6 separate regions of the Homo sapiens genome follow, and all the other regions are linked to region 2. The links are contacts of gene promoters, found by promoter capture Hi-C in blood cells and fetal thymus (Javierre and others, 2016). All regions are on one chromosome and are shown on one strand. The core of a region is centred on a gene start or on the middle of the fragment in contact, and the rest is flanking DNA. Distances in the headings are between cores, read along the strand shown.

Evidence for each region. Contacts are between HindIII fragments. The CHiCAGO score rates a contact against its expected background, and 5 or more counts as called.
Region 1: a fragment that was not itself captured here is called in contact with the fragment with the promoter of ZRANB2 in region 2 in 1 of 17 cell types (naive CD8 T cells); the score reaches 6.1 in naive CD8 T cells.
Region 3: a contact is called between a fragment that was not itself captured here and the fragment with the promoter of ZRANB2 in region 2, in 3 of 17 cell types (total B cells, non-activated CD4 T cells and activated CD4 T cells). The highest score is 13.9, in total B cells.
Region 4: a contact is called between the fragment with the promoter of PIGK here and the fragment with the promoter of ZRANB2 in region 2, in 4 of 17 cell types (total B cells, total CD8 T cells, naive CD8 T cells and 1 more). The highest score is 10.8, in total B cells.
Region 5: a contact is called between a fragment that was not itself captured here and the fragment with the promoter of ZRANB2 in region 2, in 1 of 17 cell types (naive CD4 T cells). The highest score is 5.1, in naive CD4 T cells.
Region 6: the fragment with the promoter of LEPR here is called in contact with the fragment with the promoter of ZRANB2 in region 2 in 5 of 17 cell types (non-activated CD4 T cells, activated CD4 T cells, naive CD4 T cells and 2 more); the score reaches 15.1 in non-activated CD4 T cells.

Annotation. Positions count from the first base shown.
Region 1 is chr1:77,692,667-77,695,390 of GRCh38, forward strand. No RefSeq gene overlaps it. Among named protein-coding and RNA genes, the nearest start is that of ZZZ3, 11 kb to the left of the region's middle. The HindIII fragment of the contact is 7,698 bases long and covers 1-2,724 here.
Region 2 is chr1:71,079,713-71,082,453 of GRCh38, forward strand. ZRANB2 (zinc finger RANBP2-type containing 2) reads right to left here and starts at 1,323. Exons shown (of 10, transcript NM_203350.3): 1 at 1,228-1,323. The coding sequence starts at 1,283. ZRANB2-DT (ZRANB2 divergent transcript) reads left to right here and starts at 1,612. Exons shown (of 4, transcript NR_046217.1): 1 at 1,612-1,701. RefSeq lists an enhancer at 1,273-1,562. The HindIII fragment of the contact is 3,322 bases long and covers 1,178-2,741 here.
Region 3 is chr1:77,762,832-77,765,531 of GRCh38, forward strand. No RefSeq gene overlaps it. Among named protein-coding and RNA genes, the nearest start is that of USP33, 4.3 kb to the left of the region's middle. The HindIII fragment of the contact is 3,252 bases long and covers 1-2,700 here.
Region 4 is chr1:77,218,049-77,220,748 of GRCh38, forward strand. It overlaps PIGK (phosphatidylinositol glycan anchor biosynthesis class K), which reads right to left and starts at 1,382. Exons shown (of 11, transcript NM_005482.3): 1 at 1,262-1,382. The coding sequence starts at 1,354. It overlaps LOC105378808 (a long non-coding RNA gene), which reads left to right and starts at 1,472. Exons shown (of 3, transcript XR_001738109.2): 1 at 1,472-1,605. RefSeq lists an enhancer at 1,066-1,175. The HindIII fragment of the contact is 2,966 bases long and covers 1-2,310 here.
Region 5 is chr1:77,741,827-77,744,526 of GRCh38, forward strand. All of the region lies in intron 1 of USP33 (ubiquitin specific peptidase 33), which reads right to left. Among named protein-coding and RNA genes, the nearest start is that of USP33, 17 kb to the right of the region's middle. The HindIII fragment of the contact is 2,020 bases long and covers 351-2,370 here.
Region 6 is chr1:65,419,381-65,422,080 of GRCh38, forward strand. LEPR (leptin receptor) reads left to right here and starts at 1,288. Exons shown (of 20, transcript NM_002303.6): 1 at 1,288-1,360. It overlaps LEPROT (leptin receptor overlapping transcript), which reads left to right and starts at 1,288. Exons shown (of 4, transcript NM_017526.5): 1 at 1,288-1,360. The coding sequence starts at 1,345. RefSeq lists enhancers at 602-1,134, 1,135-1,668, 1,742-1,791 and silencers at 782-851, 872-1,371. The HindIII fragment of the contact is 9,332 bases long and covers 232-2,700 here.

The DNA of each region.
Region 1 (2,724 bases), core at 74-2,573, 6.6 Mb after region 2:
AATATAAAAAGTTATCTTGCTTCTCTTCTCTTCATAGATTCAGATTCAACATTTTTGACAGGACTCTTACATAAATAATGTTGCATCCTTAGAAATTACACATTTTGGGCCTAGCACGTGGTGGCTCACGCCTGTAATCCCAGCACTTTGGGAGGCTGAGGCGGGTGGATCACTTGAGGTCAGGAGTTTGAGACCAGCCTAACCAACATGGTGAAACCCCGTCTCTACTAAAAATACAAAAATTAGCCAGGCATGGTGGCGTGCACCTGTAGTCCCAGCTACTCGGGAAGCTGAGGCAGGAGAATTGCCTGAACCTGAGAAGCAGAGGTTGCAGTTAGCAGAGATCACGCCACTGCACTCCAGCATGGGCGACAGAGAGACTCCATCTCAAAAAAAAAAAAAAAAGAAATTACACATTTTGAAAAGGAGAAAGAGAATGATGAATTACATCACCGAGTGCCAATTATGTTGTATATATTATATATAATACACATAATTATCATAATCCTATGATTAAGTGTGGCAGCCATGAAGATTGCTGTTCAGACCCCTCTTCCAGAAAGCACTTGCTGCGCAGCTGAGAGGAAGAGGGTTGGGTAACAACCTCTGTTAGCTCCATCAGGGTCAAGCTGAGTGTATTCTCCTTTCCAGGTAGCCACTAGTCAGTGACAGAACAAGGCCTAGTGACAGTACAAGGACCTAGTCATTTCTGCCCAATGCAGGGCTCCTCCAATGGGTAATCTTAGCTCCATATTGCCTTATGGAGACCTGGCAGAGAATTTGTCAGGTCTGCATCATTCTGGTTACTCCTCCTGCTCAATCCTGTTTCTCTCATTTCTTTCATCTGTGTTATTCCCCAACAAATCATATGCATGCATTAACACTATCTCAGTGTCTGCTTCCTGGAAAGCCCAAACTACAACATTCTCATTTAGCAAATGAAGAAAACTGGAAATCAGAGAACTTTAAATATTGTTCCAAATCATAGTTAATATAGCTACTAGGACTTGAATTTAAACAAATGGACTTCAGGGCCTCAAAAGTAATCACCTTCATATTATAAATCAAGACTCTTTTTTCTTTTTTTTTTTAGATGGAGTTTTGCTCTTGTTGCCCAGGCTGGAGTGCAGTGGCACGATCTTGGCTCACTGCAACCTCTGCCTCCCGGGTTCAAGCAATTCTCCTGCCTCAGCCTCCCAAGTAGCTGGGATTACAGGCGCATGCCACCACGCCAGCTAATTTTGTATTTTTAGTAGAGATGGGGTTTCACCATGTTGGTCAGGCTGGTCTCAAACTCCTGACCTCAAGTGATCCACCCACCTTGGCCTCCCAAACTGCTGGGATTACAGGCATGAGCCACCACACCTGGCCTATAAATCAATAGACTCTTAACACATATAGGCTCTCACTAGCCTTTGATTGCAATTTTCCTAATTCTCAGCTTATTTCCAGGAAAATCATCCTTAGAGAAACTATTTATTTTATCCCACATCTGTCAACACATAGATCAATTTTTAGCTATGAGTCTATGGTATTGCTAGACCTTTACTGAACATATTATGTATTTTGACAATTATAATGTAAAAAAAATTGGCCGGTCATGGTGGTTCACGCCTGTAATCCCAACACTTTGGGAGGCCAAGGCGGGTGGATTGCTTGAGTTCAGGAGATCGAAACCAGCCTGGGTGACATGGCAAAATGCTGCCTCTACAAAAAATACAAGAATTAGCTGGGTGTGGTGGCATATTCTTGTAGTTCCAGCTACTCAGGATGCTGAGGTGGGAGAATTGCTTGAGCCCAGGAGGTCGAGGTCGCATGTGAGCTGAGATTGCACCACTGCACTCCAGCCTGAGCGACAGAGTGAGACCCTGTCTCGAAAAAACTATTAAAAAAAAATATATATATATATATATATATATAAGCTCTTAGGGACCAGTATCTTTATCTTATTATATATCCCAATAACAGACACTACTGATATGACTGATACCACAACCAGTTTCAAAGGAATTCATTGGGGATTACATTATGGTAAATAATTTTCTGACTACTAGTCTCAATTTAAAATAGGCTCTTTATTATATAAAGCCATGAGTTGGAGTCCTGTATCTGCCACTTCTTTGCTGTATGACTTTGGGCAAACCATTTAACCTATATCATAGAGTTGTTAGGAGGATTAAATATAAGGAAATAACTTTAGTAAAATGACTGAAACATTCTAAGTTTCAATAAATAACAATCATTAAAATCAAATCTTTTTTGACTAACCACTAAATACTAGACAATACACTAAATTCTGGTGATTCACAAAAAATCAGTAACATTCAGACCTTGAGGAAGATCATATTTTACTATAGTAGAATCATATTTTACTATATATTTTTTAAAACTTCAAATAGATCTTAAATGGCTGCTTATTAAAATTCATTTCATTAAACATCAAAATTTTACTACACTGATTACCAGCCCAAGCAATAAAGTCAGACTTTACAAAAAATAAAACAAATTATCCAGGTGTGGTGGTGCACACCTGTGGTCTCAGGTACTCAGGAGGCTGAGGTGGGAGGATCGCTTGATCCCAGGAGATGGAGACTGCAGTGAGCTGTATTCAACGCCAGGCACTCCAGTCTGGGTGACAGAGCTCGAGAGACCCTGTCTAAAAAAAAAATAAAATAATAAATAAAAACCAACTTTACTAGACTGAATGACTTGTTTGCATACTTC
Region 2 (2,741 bases), core at 73-2,572:
TGGGTGTGCTGTCATTAAAGACACTGACAAAAGCACATTATTTTACAGGTAACAACAAAGTCAGAAGTTGTTGTTCTAAATCTTTTGAACGTTTTCAATAATGTCTTACCACTCAGAGCAATACTATCCATAACATATAACTTTGGTTCTATTCAGTATCATTTGTTAGGCTTGAACTACTCCTTCAGGTCATCTTAATATCAAATTACTATCAATAGCCACCAATTAGAATTTGCTACACGTCACTGTTTACACACCCTATCCATGTTATTTCATGTTTTCATTAAAAAAAAAATTCTATTCCTTTTTTAGCAGTTAAATAAGTAATAGAATTTTAACTAAACCCAGGTTTATTTCAAAGTTTTTGCTTTTTACAATCAAAACCTATTTGTGGCTAACTTAGGTACAACAAATAAAAGGCTTTTATGTGAACATGAGTTGTACATTAAATTATTTTCCATGTTATTTCCGAATAGATACACCTATTTGTGCACCCTTCAAAAAAAATCTGATTAACTATCTAGTCGAGTACTGGCTTTGGCAACAATGTCAAAAAGCAGAGCCACTAACACACGTGCTTCTCTGCTGCAGGCATCTTAAGGGCTGAGTAGGCAAAAACACAGGCCTCTTCCCTCCTTTTCGGCTCTAAGGAGGCGAAAAGCCCAATTCTTGTGGAGAAATGATCCACAAAGAAAATGTCAGAATTTCCCAAACCGAAGAGGGTAGAGCTTCCGGAAAAGGGGAAAATAGTATGGAGGAAAAGTTTGAGTAAAAATACAAAACAAGGTGAACTATAAGAGGCAAAAGGACGAGTGCGAGAAAGCAATATTTTCCGTGAACAAGAGTAAAGTTCTGCAGAGAAAAGTCACGTGGGGGAGATCCAACACCAAGCTGGCCTGACTGGAGAGGTTTCCTATCGCTAAAACCTGGCCGGGGCGGGGGAGGGGGGTGGGGGCAAAAAGGTAGGCCATCTCGCACTCTAAAAAGAGAGGCTACCTTGCGGAGGTAATGTCGAGGAAACGCTGAAGACATATCTAGAACAAAGGCTCCCGGAAAGACCTCTCTCGTGAGGAGATTGGGAGCCTTCTTCCCGCCAGGGAACTGGCGGTTCGCCGCCTCAACCCGTCTTAAGGCACAGAAAATCATAAAAAAGGAAAATGCCGGACGGACCTCGGAAAGCTTCCACTAACAAACTCCGTCCCAATTCAGGACCCTTCTTGAACTCACTTTTTGTCAGGGCAAATCCAGTCCCCGTCACTGACTCGGAAATTCTTGGTCGACATCTTGAACGCCACCAGCACAGCCACCCGCAGCTATGTCTTCACAGGAGGAAAACGGGCCGGGGACTTTCGGCAACTCGGGGCTGTCCCCACACTGCCTGACTCGCGCCTACTACTGTGTCAGGGTTTGATAATGAGGGAACTAGCCAGGAATTCAGCTTGTACGTTGTTGTCCAGACTAAGATGCCTGTGCTACTGTTTGTTAGATGGAAAAGTTAAAATACAAATATCTTTTCTAGAACTAAACTCACAGGCGCCATAAGGACAACCCAGGCAGGAGGCCTTCGTGGCACTAGAAGCCTCGGAGAGCCCCCTACAGGTGGGAGGACCCAAGAGTAAAGTACTTCCGCTTCCTTAGGTGGAGCTGGAAAGGTGGAGGCGGAAGTGACTGATCAATTCAGGGGCGTGGGGTTCGTTTAGGGTAAGAGGCGGCTCGGGCTCTTCAAGTGTTTAGAGAAATTATTTTAATAAGGCATAAAAATTCTGTTATTTCATACACATGGGATGTCGTTTGGAAACCTATTTTTATATATACATAAATAGGTGTAACAGATAAGTAAGCAACTTATACATGGGAACCAGCTGGTAATTTTAAAACTGAGACATTGTCAACACTGTTTAAATTACCAGTGTCTTTTCTGATACCATCCCATTACTTTCTTCCACAGATAACACTTTCCCATATTTGGGATTTATTCTTTTGCTTTTTAAAAATTTATGTACGTTGTTAGTCCAAACTGCACCATTTTTGTAAGCCCCCCTGCCATTTTGCAGACCTTAGTCAAAGTGAAACATTCCACGGGGTTCGGGCGTGAGAAACAGGCTGCCTCTTATACTCTGCTGGGAGAAAGTACCACATTCCACTGGAACAAGGGCCAGAGCCGCCTCGTCCTGGGAACACCTTATCAACATGTTCCCAGGAAGCAGGCCATGGCCCCCCAGACCACTCCCACCCAGGCCTATAAATCACCCCAGCCTGTAAGAAGCAACGGGCACTGGCATTAAGCTGGTCTCCCACCTCTGTAGGTCTTATGCTGGACATAAATCCTGTATTTGTTGTTAAGCCACCCTCTCTTTCTTTAATCCTTGCCTTCCCTTCAAAACCTAACATACATGTATGTTTAATTTTATGAGCTGTGTAAGCATAGTTGATTCTGTACTCTTTTTTTGTTCATTATGCTTCTAAATTAATCCTAGGTAGTTGCATGTAGAAGTGTATAGGTGTAATTCTTTTATTTGCACTGATGTATACTGATACTATTCCGTTTTGTGGTTTTGTGACAGTTTATTCCTTCTGTTTCTCAGGCTTGGTATTACAAACAACACCAGTATGAGCATTCTTATGCATAGATTCTGGTATATAAATGCATTAATTTTTTTTAGAATACAGCATATACAGTCATGCCTCACTTAATGATAGGGATATGTTCTGAGAAATGCCACTTTCGGCAATTGTGCTGT
Region 3 (2,700 bases), core at 161-2,660, 6.7 Mb after region 2:
TCTCTCCTGAACTCCTCAATGGGAGCAGTGAGTATTTATCTTATTCACAATATTCCCAGAGCCTAGCATTGAAGGACTCAAAAACTTGTTGGCACTCAACTGGGGGTGGTTTTGTCCCCTGAGTGGATAGTTGGCAATATTTCTGAAGAGGATTGGTGGGAGAAAGAATTAGTAACATTCCTTTGCATTGATATTACAAGAGAGTCCCAGACATCATTAATGCCACTATTGAGAAACTCTGATTTAAGCTGGGGCTTTAAAATATGTCTTTGGGCCGGGCCCAGTGGCTCACGTCTGTAATCCCAGCACTTTGGAAGGCCGAGTTGGGCGGATCACCTGAGATCAGGAGTTCGAGACCAGCCTGGCCAACATGATGAAACTCCATCTCTATCAAAAATACAAAAATTAGCTGGGTGTGGTGCAGGTACCTATAATCCCAGCTACTCGGGAGGCTGAGGCAGGAGAATCGCTTGAACCCGGGCGGCGGAGGTTGCAGTGAGCTGAGATGGCACCACTGCATTCCAGCCTGGGCAACAAGAGCAAAACTCTGTCTCAAAGTAAAATAAAATATGTTTCTGGGCAGGGCGCAGTAGCTCATGCCTGTAATCCCAACACTTTGGAAAGCTGCGGCTGCTTGAGACCAGAGTTCAAGACCAGCCTGGGCAACATGGCGAAACCCTGTCTCTACAAAAAATTGCAACAATTAGCCGGGCATGGTGGATCATGCCTGTAGTCCCAGCTACTATGGAGGGTGAGGTGAGAGAATCACTTGAGCCCAGGAAATTAAGACTGTCATGAGCCATGACTGTGCCACCCCTCTCCAGCCTGGGCAATAGGAGTGAGACCCTGTCTCTCAAAAAACAAAAACAAGAACAAAAAAAAAAGAAAGAAAGAAAAGAAAAATATATTTTAAAACAAATCTTAGGCAAAGCATTTTTGCTTTTCCGCTCACTGTCACATAATTAAAAAGTCCACCAGGCCAGGTGTGTTGGCTCATGCCTATAATTCAACACTTTTCAAAGCCAAGGTGGGAGGATCAGTTGAGCCCAGGAGTTCGAGACCAGCCTGGTTAACAAAGTGAAATTCTGCCTCTACAAAAAATTTTAAAAAATAATACCAGGATACGATGGCACATGCCTGTAGTACAGCTACTCCAGAGGCTGAGGCAGGAGGATCCCTTGAGCCCAGGAGTTTGAGACTGCAGTGAGTGAGCTATAATCGTGCCACTGTACTCCAGCTTGGTGACAGAGCAAGAGCCTCTCTGTCAGAAAAAAAAAAAAAAAAAGTCCTCCAGTAATTTTCTAGTAATAAAAAAAAGTGGCCTTTTGCCCCTAGTATTAGAAAAAAATCCTGTCCAGTGCAATATCAAAAATTCTCTGCCATTTCCTCTACCTTGTTCTCCCTTCTCCCTGGCTTATTGGCTTTTTGTTTTGTGCCCCTCCACAGTTGAAGAAGACAAGAACAGAAAGGATCTTTCTGGACTGACACAGTTTTAGCAGTCAGTGACTTTTGGGAGTGGCTGAGGTCTGAAGCTGACTCTTTCTCTCATGGAGTCCATCACTGGAACCCTCACCTACAGTCTCTTGGCTCAGCAATGTATCTTCTGGATGGCCACCTATGACCTAGTCCTTAGTCCCCTGATTTCCAGGGATCCTCTCACCCAAACTGACAGTCCTTTTGGACAGACATTTTCAAGGTGACCCAGTCCAAATCTCTTACATGAGGTTCTCACTTAGTCCACAAAAAGCATACAAGTATCTTGCACAGAAGTGTGAACTGTTCCCAATCAGCCCTATATGCATTTTGTGTGTGTGTGAAAGTCTCGCTGCAGTGCAGTGGCACAATCCTGGCTCACTGCAACCTCTGCCTCCTGGGTTCAAGTGATTCTCCTGCCTCAGCCTCCCGAGTAGCTGGGACTACAAGCAGGCACTACCATGCCCGGCTAATTTTTGTATTTTTTTTTTTTTTAGCAGAGACGGGGTTTCGTCATTGTTGGCCACGCTGGTCTTGAATTCCTGACCTCAAGTGATCTGCCTGCCTCAGCCTCCCAAAGTGCTGGGATTACCGGCATGAGCCTCCATACCCAGCCCCTATATGCATCTTCTGCTCAGAGGCGGCCTCAGTCTCTTGATTTAGAACTTTTCAAATGTACATCAGTTACCAGATATCATCTCTGTAAGATTCAAGGGGCACATCTCATCTTTTCCAAATGGTTCTCTTGAAGCCCCTCAGACTTGGCTTGAGATGAGACAGAAGCACCTATTTCCCCACCCATCATGGAGGTATCTTAACTTAAGATGTGTAATTTGGCACTGACATTTGAAGTCTCTGCCAAGAATCTGTTATCATCTATTCACTCTTAGAGTAACGATTCAGGTTACCCTAGCTCAAAGTTTCTAAAAAATGACGCGACACGGACATTTTGGATTAAATAATTCTTTGTTGTGGAGGGTGGTTCCTGTGCACTGAAGGATATTTAGCAGCATCTTTAGTCTTTACCTACTAGATCCCAGCAGCACCTCCTCCAGTGATAACAAACAAAAATGTCTCCAAACATTGCCAAAAGTCACCCAAGGGGCAAAATCACACCCAGTTGAGAATTGGTGCTCTAGTTTAGGCTAGTGCTTCTCAGAGTTTTCTTAGATTATCAGATCAGGTCATTTAGAAAATTATAATACACTGGGATCAATAGACAAGGAT
Region 4 (2,700 bases), core at 132-2,631, 6.1 Mb after region 2:
ATATGAAGTTCATGCTCAATATCTTTTTTTAACTGATAGGGTGTGTATTCAAAAAGTTTGGAGTCCACTGGTCTAAGCTCAAGGTGCCCAGGTGGTGGGGAGAAGAGGTTCCAATATGGAACACTGGAAAAGTAGGCAAGCACCAGGTCATAACGTTTAGACTTTATTCTGTATGCAATTAATAAATATTTAAAAGATTTCATCAGAAGAATAACCTGATCAGGCTTACATTTCGTGTAGACGAATCTAGCACCAAACTCAGGGAGTATGGAGGCCTATGGAAAACAAGATAAAGTAATCGCAAGAGTCTAGACAAGAAGTGATCACAGCCTGAATTAAGTCAGTGGAACTGGAGAGGTGAGGGCAATTTTAAGAACTCAGATCACAAAATTTAGTGATAATTAGAATATGGGATAAAGAGATTAAGACTCTCAGGTTTCTAGCTTAGGAGCAGCACATCTGGTTGAGAAATGGAGGAGAAAAGGGGTGCTTAGTTTTTCAGTGTCTTTTTAAGAGGAGGTAGGATAAGCAGAAGATAAAACTTTGCACACGGATTTTCAAATGTCTCCTGACTATCCCGGATTCTTAGTCAGCTGGATATGCAGGCCTGAAAAAGATACCAGACATCTAGATTGTAGACCGGGACTGAGGAATCATCAGAGTATGGTGAATAGTAAAAGCATTATAGAGCACCAGAACATCCTGTGTCCACGTTTAAAAATGGGAAGCTGGAGGAGCCCAGGATAAAACTAAGCACCCCTTTTCTCTTCCATTTCTTAACCCAGACGTGTTGCCCCTAAGCCAGAAACTTGAGAGTTTTAATAAACACTTATATTTATCCCATGTTCTAATTATCACTAAATTCTATTATCTGGATTCTTAAAATTGCCCTCATCTCTCCAGTTCCGTCTGACTCCTATCAAAACAGAGGGCTGCAGTTGAGTAGTAGGAAAGCAGTTGCTGCACACTGACATTTCACGAGCCTCTTGCTCGTATTTCACCTAAGAACTGCACACATGTAGGAGCAAAGGATCAGGTCCTCCTCTGTCTCCGAGGGTTTGATTATTTCAATTCATCGTTTTAAAACGCTGAAACAGACCAACAGTGTCCTAACCCGTGCCCAGTGATACCCTCCTCAAACCCAGCCTGGGTCAGGGGCTGATTGACTCCAGGAGGCGTCCCTCAGCTACTGTGTATCGGACATCTGCTGGAGGGCTCACAGCCGGCCTCCCGGCTGTGGTCAAATGAGCCTGACTCCTACCTCGATATGACTAGCGGCCACGCTGCCGAAGGACAAGAGCAACACAGTTGCCAAGACAGTCGCAGCCCGGCTGAGGCTGTCGGTGACGGCCATGTTTACCGGCTTCAGACTTCCCGCACCTGAAGGGGCGGAGGCAGTGCCGTAAAGTAGCGCTGCGGGTTTTTGCGACACCATCCGCGCCTCTTCGAGGTGGCCCTCTGGTCCGGCTTTAGAACTCTGCGGTTTTGTGGAGCTCGAGAGTCCGGGACAAGGTAGACGCAGGATATTGACCTTTTTATTTTTAACTGCATTTTCAGTTTGGAGGTTGTAAAATAGGTATAACATTTAAGAAAAAAAATTGAAAGGTGAGTGGAGGGAAAACCCGTAACTCCTTAAACTTTAAAAACTTATTTCTCTGTTCCCTTATTTATTTTATTTATTTATTTATTTATTTATTTATTTATTTTGCCGAGTGCTGCCAATTCTTTGAAAATATGAAGCTGGATGTGGTGGGAAGAACAAGCGTTTTGGCACAAAAAGATGATTAATTGGATAAACTATAAATGGAAAATGTGGGTGGGCGCTGCAATTTAGAGGCTTGGGGTCTACTACCTGGTGAAAGGATTAACATGGGAAGCTAGTTACGTTTTTGTTTCTTGAGTATCTTCTGTAATTATGGAACTAAAGCCTATCTGGAAGAGACACAGCTGGTGTATATGTATGGTCCACCATTCTCTTTATTATGTGAGTTCAGTTTTAATTTATGCATTTCATCTAGTATGACATAAACGTTTCCACGCTGCTTCCTCACAATTTTAACATTTAATGGTGAGATAAAATTCCATCCATTATTGATGCCTCAGCCAAAGTAATTGTCCCTCTGCTGCACAATGCAAAGTTTTTAAGTTTTACTATGAAAATAATATTGTAAAGAGTATCTTTTGTGTGTTTGGCTTTTTAAATCTGTTGAATTATTTTGTTTGTATAATTTTCCTGAACTAGGAATTTGGGGTCAAAATATTCCAAAACATTTTAATAACTATAAATGATGTTGCTTTCCAAAATGAACAAGCTTACAGCACTATCAGAATACACAACACCAAACCATACCATTTTTTTTCCTTTAAATTCTTTGGTATGAAATGTTACCCCTAGGTAACTATACTTATAATTCTTTGGTTACTATCAAGATCTGATGTCTTTCTTGTGTTTCTAAACTATCTCTGTGTCCTCTGATGTAAATTCTTTGTTTATATATTTATGTTTTGCATATGAATTTGAATAATATATTTATAAATAAGTAACATTAGCCTTTGCCATATTTTATGCTATTGCTTTTCCCATTCTCTTGTCTCTCTTTTCCTTTTATTTGTTTCTTTTGCTATTGCACTTTGTGAGAGGTTTCATGCTATTTAGTCAAATTTAGGTTTTCCGTTACGTGAATCCTAGAAAGTAAATAC
Region 5 (2,700 bases), core at 111-2,610, 6.7 Mb after region 2:
AAAATGTTAACATATTAAAAATGATTAAAAGATAACATAAGAATGATATAAGTTTGCCCTGTAAAAAGAGTGTATTCTCAAACATAGATGAGTTTTCAGAATTGAAGTTAATCTGAACACTGGAAATTTCTCTACTACATAAACATTTTATTAAAATTGACATCTATAAACAAATGTAAGTTTGTTTCTCCATGACTTTTGCTGCTTTTCCCCTCTCATTTCACTTTTTATAGATAAATAAAAGGGGGGAATATTCAAGTTATTCAACTGTGAAGCACTTTTATCCTTTTAAAAAAAAAATTAATCCTTAGGCTGGACTAGGAGTTGAAAAAAAAAAACTTCAAGTAGAAAGCTTCATTTTTCTACTAATAGGACCCCCTACTGATGGCATAAATTAAATCATCTGGTATCCTGGCCTTATACCAGGATAAGCACTTTATATCAGGGTTTCTCGATCCCGGCACTATTGACACTTAGGGCCAGATAATTCTTCGCTGTGAGGGATTGTCCTGTGCACTGCAGGTTATTTGGCAACATTCCCACTTCTATCCACAAGAGACAGACAGACCATCCCTGCCACCACTCTGAACTCTGATGACCAGTGTCTCTAGACTGTTTTAAATTATACCCTCTGGGGGACAAAATCTCTCCAGGTTTGAGAACCCCATTTTCATGATCTTTACAACCCCTGAAATAGGCACCATTATTAGCTTCATTTGCACATAAGGCTAAGAGATGCAAACTTTACTGATCCACAGTGTTTGGTTCAAGTAAAGCGAGTGATTTCCAAAGGTCTCAAGTCTAATTTGGTATTCCTAGATCTTTTGGTTGTACCTTTTTAATAACAGGGCTTTTCATGCTCTTAATTCAACTTTGAGGTTTGAGAACACTTTCCCAAAAAAAGTTTAGAACTTGCTAGGATAGAATGAAACAGTTTAAAAGTTTGAACTTCAGAAACACTGTAAATTTAATTTCCTTTGTGGTTTATAAGTTATTCAATAAACCATGCAGGTCTATGTAATAGTTTATAACTATATAGAACCCCTTTGTTACCCTGTAGCTTATATAAGAGTGTCTGTCTGCCTTTTATTATTTATTTATTTATTTATTTATTTATTTATTTATTTATTTTTGAGACAGAGTTTCACTCTTGCTGCCCAGGCTGGAGTGCAATGGCGTGATCTCAGCTCACCGCAAACTTCACCTCCCAGGTTCAAGTGATTCTCCTGCCTCAGCCTCCCGAGTAGCTGGGATTACAGGCATGCGCCACCACACCCGACCACTTTTTTTGTATTTTTAGTAGAGATGGGGTTTCTCCATGTTGGTCAGGCTGATCTCGAACTCCCGACCTCAGGTGATCCACCCGCCTCAGTCTCCCAAAGTCCTGGGATTACAGGTGTGAGCCACTGCGCCTGGCCTCTGTCTGCCTTTTAAACCCATTGCAATAAATTTGCTGAAATATTAACACATTAGTAAATACATTTTTTTTATTATACTTTAAGTTCTAGGGTACATGTGCACAATGTGCAGGTTTGTGTAAATACATTTTTTTAAGAAAAGTTGAACAAAATCAAATCAAATAATCAATTCACTATTACGCTGCAACACACAAAATTCACCAGGAACCACTCTAGGGTTAATAGTGCAAACATTTCTTTTTTCTTTTGAGACAGGGCCTCATTCTGTCACTCACACTGGAGTACAATGGGGCAAACACAACTCACTGCAGCCTCAACCTCCTGGTCTCAAACCGTCCTCCTGTCTCAGCCTCCCATGTAGCTACAACTACAGGTGCACGCCATGTGATTAGACTACCCCAAGCCAGAGAAAAAAACCACGGGAAAGGATTAGGTAAAACAATTCTCAAAGCCTTTAAGGGTTGTTGGTATTCTCATCAGCCACAGTTGAAAGACACCATAATAGAGGAAATAATGCACTCAGAATGGCATTGCCTCAATAATCGGAAGAAATTATCCTTAATCTAAAGGTTACTTTGGTTCTGTCTTTAAAAAGTTCAAAAAGGGCTGGGCGCAGTGGCTCACCCCTGTAATCCCAACACTTTGGGAGGCCAAGGTGGACGGATCACGAGGTCAGGAGATCGAGAACATCCTGGCCAAGGGAACCCCATCTCTACTAAGAATACAAACATTAGCTGGGCGTGGTGGTGTGCACCTATAGTCCCAGCTACTCAGGAGGCTGAGACAGGAGAATTGCTTGAACCCAGGAGGCAGAGGTTGCAGTGAGCTGAGATCGCGCCACTGCAATCCAACCTGAGGACAGAGCAAGACTCTGTCTCAAAAAAAAAAAAAAAAGTTCAAAAAGAAGTCTTAGAAGGATCAAACTGTTCCAAAGGAATTGTGTTCGGAACAAAGCTTAAGGACATTTAAAGGAATGAAAAAATTCAGTACCCATCAAGGTAAAAATCACAATAACTGGCATCTAATAAAAAATGACAGGCATTCTAAGAAGGAAATTCTGACCCACAGTGAAGAGAAAAAGAAGAAACCAAGAAATAGCACAGATGACAGAACAAAGATAGACTAAATCTTAATCTTAAAAATTAAATCAGAACATCAGTGATATAGGGGAAAATGTTCAAATTTGATGAAAACTAGAGCCCTACAGATCCACAAGCAATTTAAACTCAGCACAAAACACACAAACTACACCATGTACATCAAAAACAAATTACTTAAAACT
Region 6 (2,700 bases), core at 38-2,537, 5.7 Mb before region 2:
CTCTTTCCTTAAATGTAAGTTGAAGCATTTGGACCAGACTGTTTCAATGATCTTCTAGATTGCTTTTGCCAAAACAGAACTCTCCATTCCTGTAAGATAAGTACACAATGGCTCTCAGAGATCTAAAAACTGGCCTTGGTTACCTGCAAACTTTGAGGCCCCAAGGCACAAAAATAATAGCTTTTTTTTTTTATTTTTTTTTTTAAGGTTCATGAAAGCTTCGGACACAAAAGCTTATATGGTCTTCGTCTCTATAAATAAACCAGGGAGTAAAGAAAAACCCCGCTAGTTTCAGTAAAGCGTTGCTATTAAGCAAAGCAAACCTATGCAAATATCAAGTTCTTAATGAGGAGTGTTTCCTAAGGGGCCTGTCCTCTGGTACCCCGCCTCTCCTCTGCCACAGTCATGTGAAGGCAGACAGGCACACACTCGCACACTAGCACGCACTTGGGAGCTCAGGGAACATAACACTGGTTAGTGAGTCGGTGTCCCTCTCCCATCGATTGCAACTTTTCCCCTCCTTCCCTCTCCTGCCTCTCCCCACTTTCTACATCTCCGTTCTCAGGAAGGCTCAGGGAGGATCCCCCGCTGCGTGCACTGCGTTCTGAGAGGCCGGGGAGAGACTCTGGGCCCGCGGTCGGGGCGGAGCCAAGGTCCCAACCCACATTGAACGGGCTTGAGGATTACTTGGAGGGCTCAGGATCTAGGAGGAGGGCCCAGGGCACTGGGTTGGGGTTACTCTGGGAAAGCTCTGTGGGACCAGGTGGGACCTTAGGGCTGGAGATGGACTCTGCGAGCTGGGGGCGGAGTTCTAGACTGGCAGGAGCGGAGTTCTGGGTGGCGGGGGCGGGGTCGGGACCAGCAGGGACGGCCTCTGAGAGTTGGGGGCGGAATTCTGGGCCGGTGAGGGCTGGGGCGGGACCAGCAGGGGAGGCCTCCGCGAGCTAGGGGAGGAGCTCTGCATTGTCTGGGGCGGGGCTTCGAGTAGCGGTAGCGAGGTCTGGAGCCGCAGGCGCTGCCTCCGCGAGGTAGGGGAGGAGCTCTGTACTGTCAGGGGCGGGGCTCTGAGTAGCGAGGCCGGGTCTGAACTATCAGGCGCGGCCTCTGCGAGCTGGGGGCGGGGTTCTGCACCGGCGGGGGCGGGGTTGTGAGTGGTGGGGGCGGGGTCTGGAGCAGCAGGCGCCGCGTTTGCGAGCTAAGGTCGGAGTTCTGCACCGGCGGGGGCGGGGCTCTGCGTGGCCGGGGCGGGCTCGGGATCCGCGGGGCGACTCCCGGTCTGGCTTGGGCAGGCTGCCCGGGCCGTGGCAGGAAGCCGGAAGCAGCCGCGGCCCCAGTTCGGGAGACATGGCGGGCGTTAAAGGTACATCGCGGTCCCCGGCTCGCTTGTCGTGTGGTGGGGTTGCCACCTCCGTTCCGGTCAAGCCTGGGGCTGCGCCTTCCGCGCGCCGTTGGGGAACGGCCTCACCACCCTTCCCGCCTCTCCGGTTCGGGAGGCGATCGACCGCTCCCTTCGTCCCTTGGGGTGTGGGTGGAGCGGCGTTTCGGGGGAGCCTTGGCCCTTTTTGCAAGGCCGCTGGCCTTCCTGCTCTCCAGTGGCGGCACCAGACCCCTCCCCAGCCTGAGCCCTCGGCGAGAGCGGCGCCCTCCACCTCTCCTGAGTTTTTAAACAAGGTTTCCACTTCTTGACGCCACCCTAACGCCTTTCTTCTGGTTTTCTGCCCCTCCGCAGTTTCCTATTTGCCACAAAGGACCCTTTGTCTCCAGCGTTCTTAGCATTGGGAAACTTAATCCTCTTTTTCCTAATGATTTTTCCAACTGGGCAGAGTTGACCGCGGGCGGGTGTCAATGGAAAGCACCCAGAAAGACGGTGTTTCTCGCAGTCGTGGAGAGTAGATTACGTGTAATTTTAATACTGCTTTCTTCGGTGTTTTCTCTGTTTATGGACAGAGAAGAAACCAGTGTGTGTGTAGTATGTGTTTTTTGCATGGGGCAGTTGGTAAAAACACCGCGTCCCTTATCTGTATGGCTTCAGAGCAATGCGAGACGGAAAAGGTTTTTTGCAAGGCTTCCTGTATTTTGGTAGGAAAACATTCCATTTCTAATCTGTCGAATAGAGTAGCATGACTTGTTTTTATATTGGCTTTTATATCATCCTTGAAATTTGCACCCAAAGATATCCCCAGTTAACATCTGCTATAAACATGTAGATAGTATATATACGAGTACGCCTCTGTTCACTATGAATTTATCCGAGTATGTGAGCTGTTAGCAGCAGACATTTTATCGTTATTTCTGGCTGACTTTTATACTTAATATCAGTTTAGTAAACATGGTTTACTTGGAGAGTGTCGACTGTGTTATATATCCATTTGAAGCCAATGCCGAAAACAGATGAAAAGTAGTGTCTCAGTACTACACATGATCAGAAACTACCAAATCATGATCACGTTTATGTGTGAATGTGTTAGAAAATTGTGATGTAGTGAAAAAAAAGGAAGTCTGAAATGGAAACGGACTAAGGGAAGGAAGCATTTTACAGATTGTTCAACTTTTATTGAGGAACTACTGTATGCCAGAGACTTAGGATACAAAGATAAATGAGAAGTTATTGGTGGGTGACAGAGCTGGAAATAATTATATTACTATGTCAGTGTTTATGTTGGGCTCAGATGCGGTGGGAGAACAGATGGTGGGTTGGAT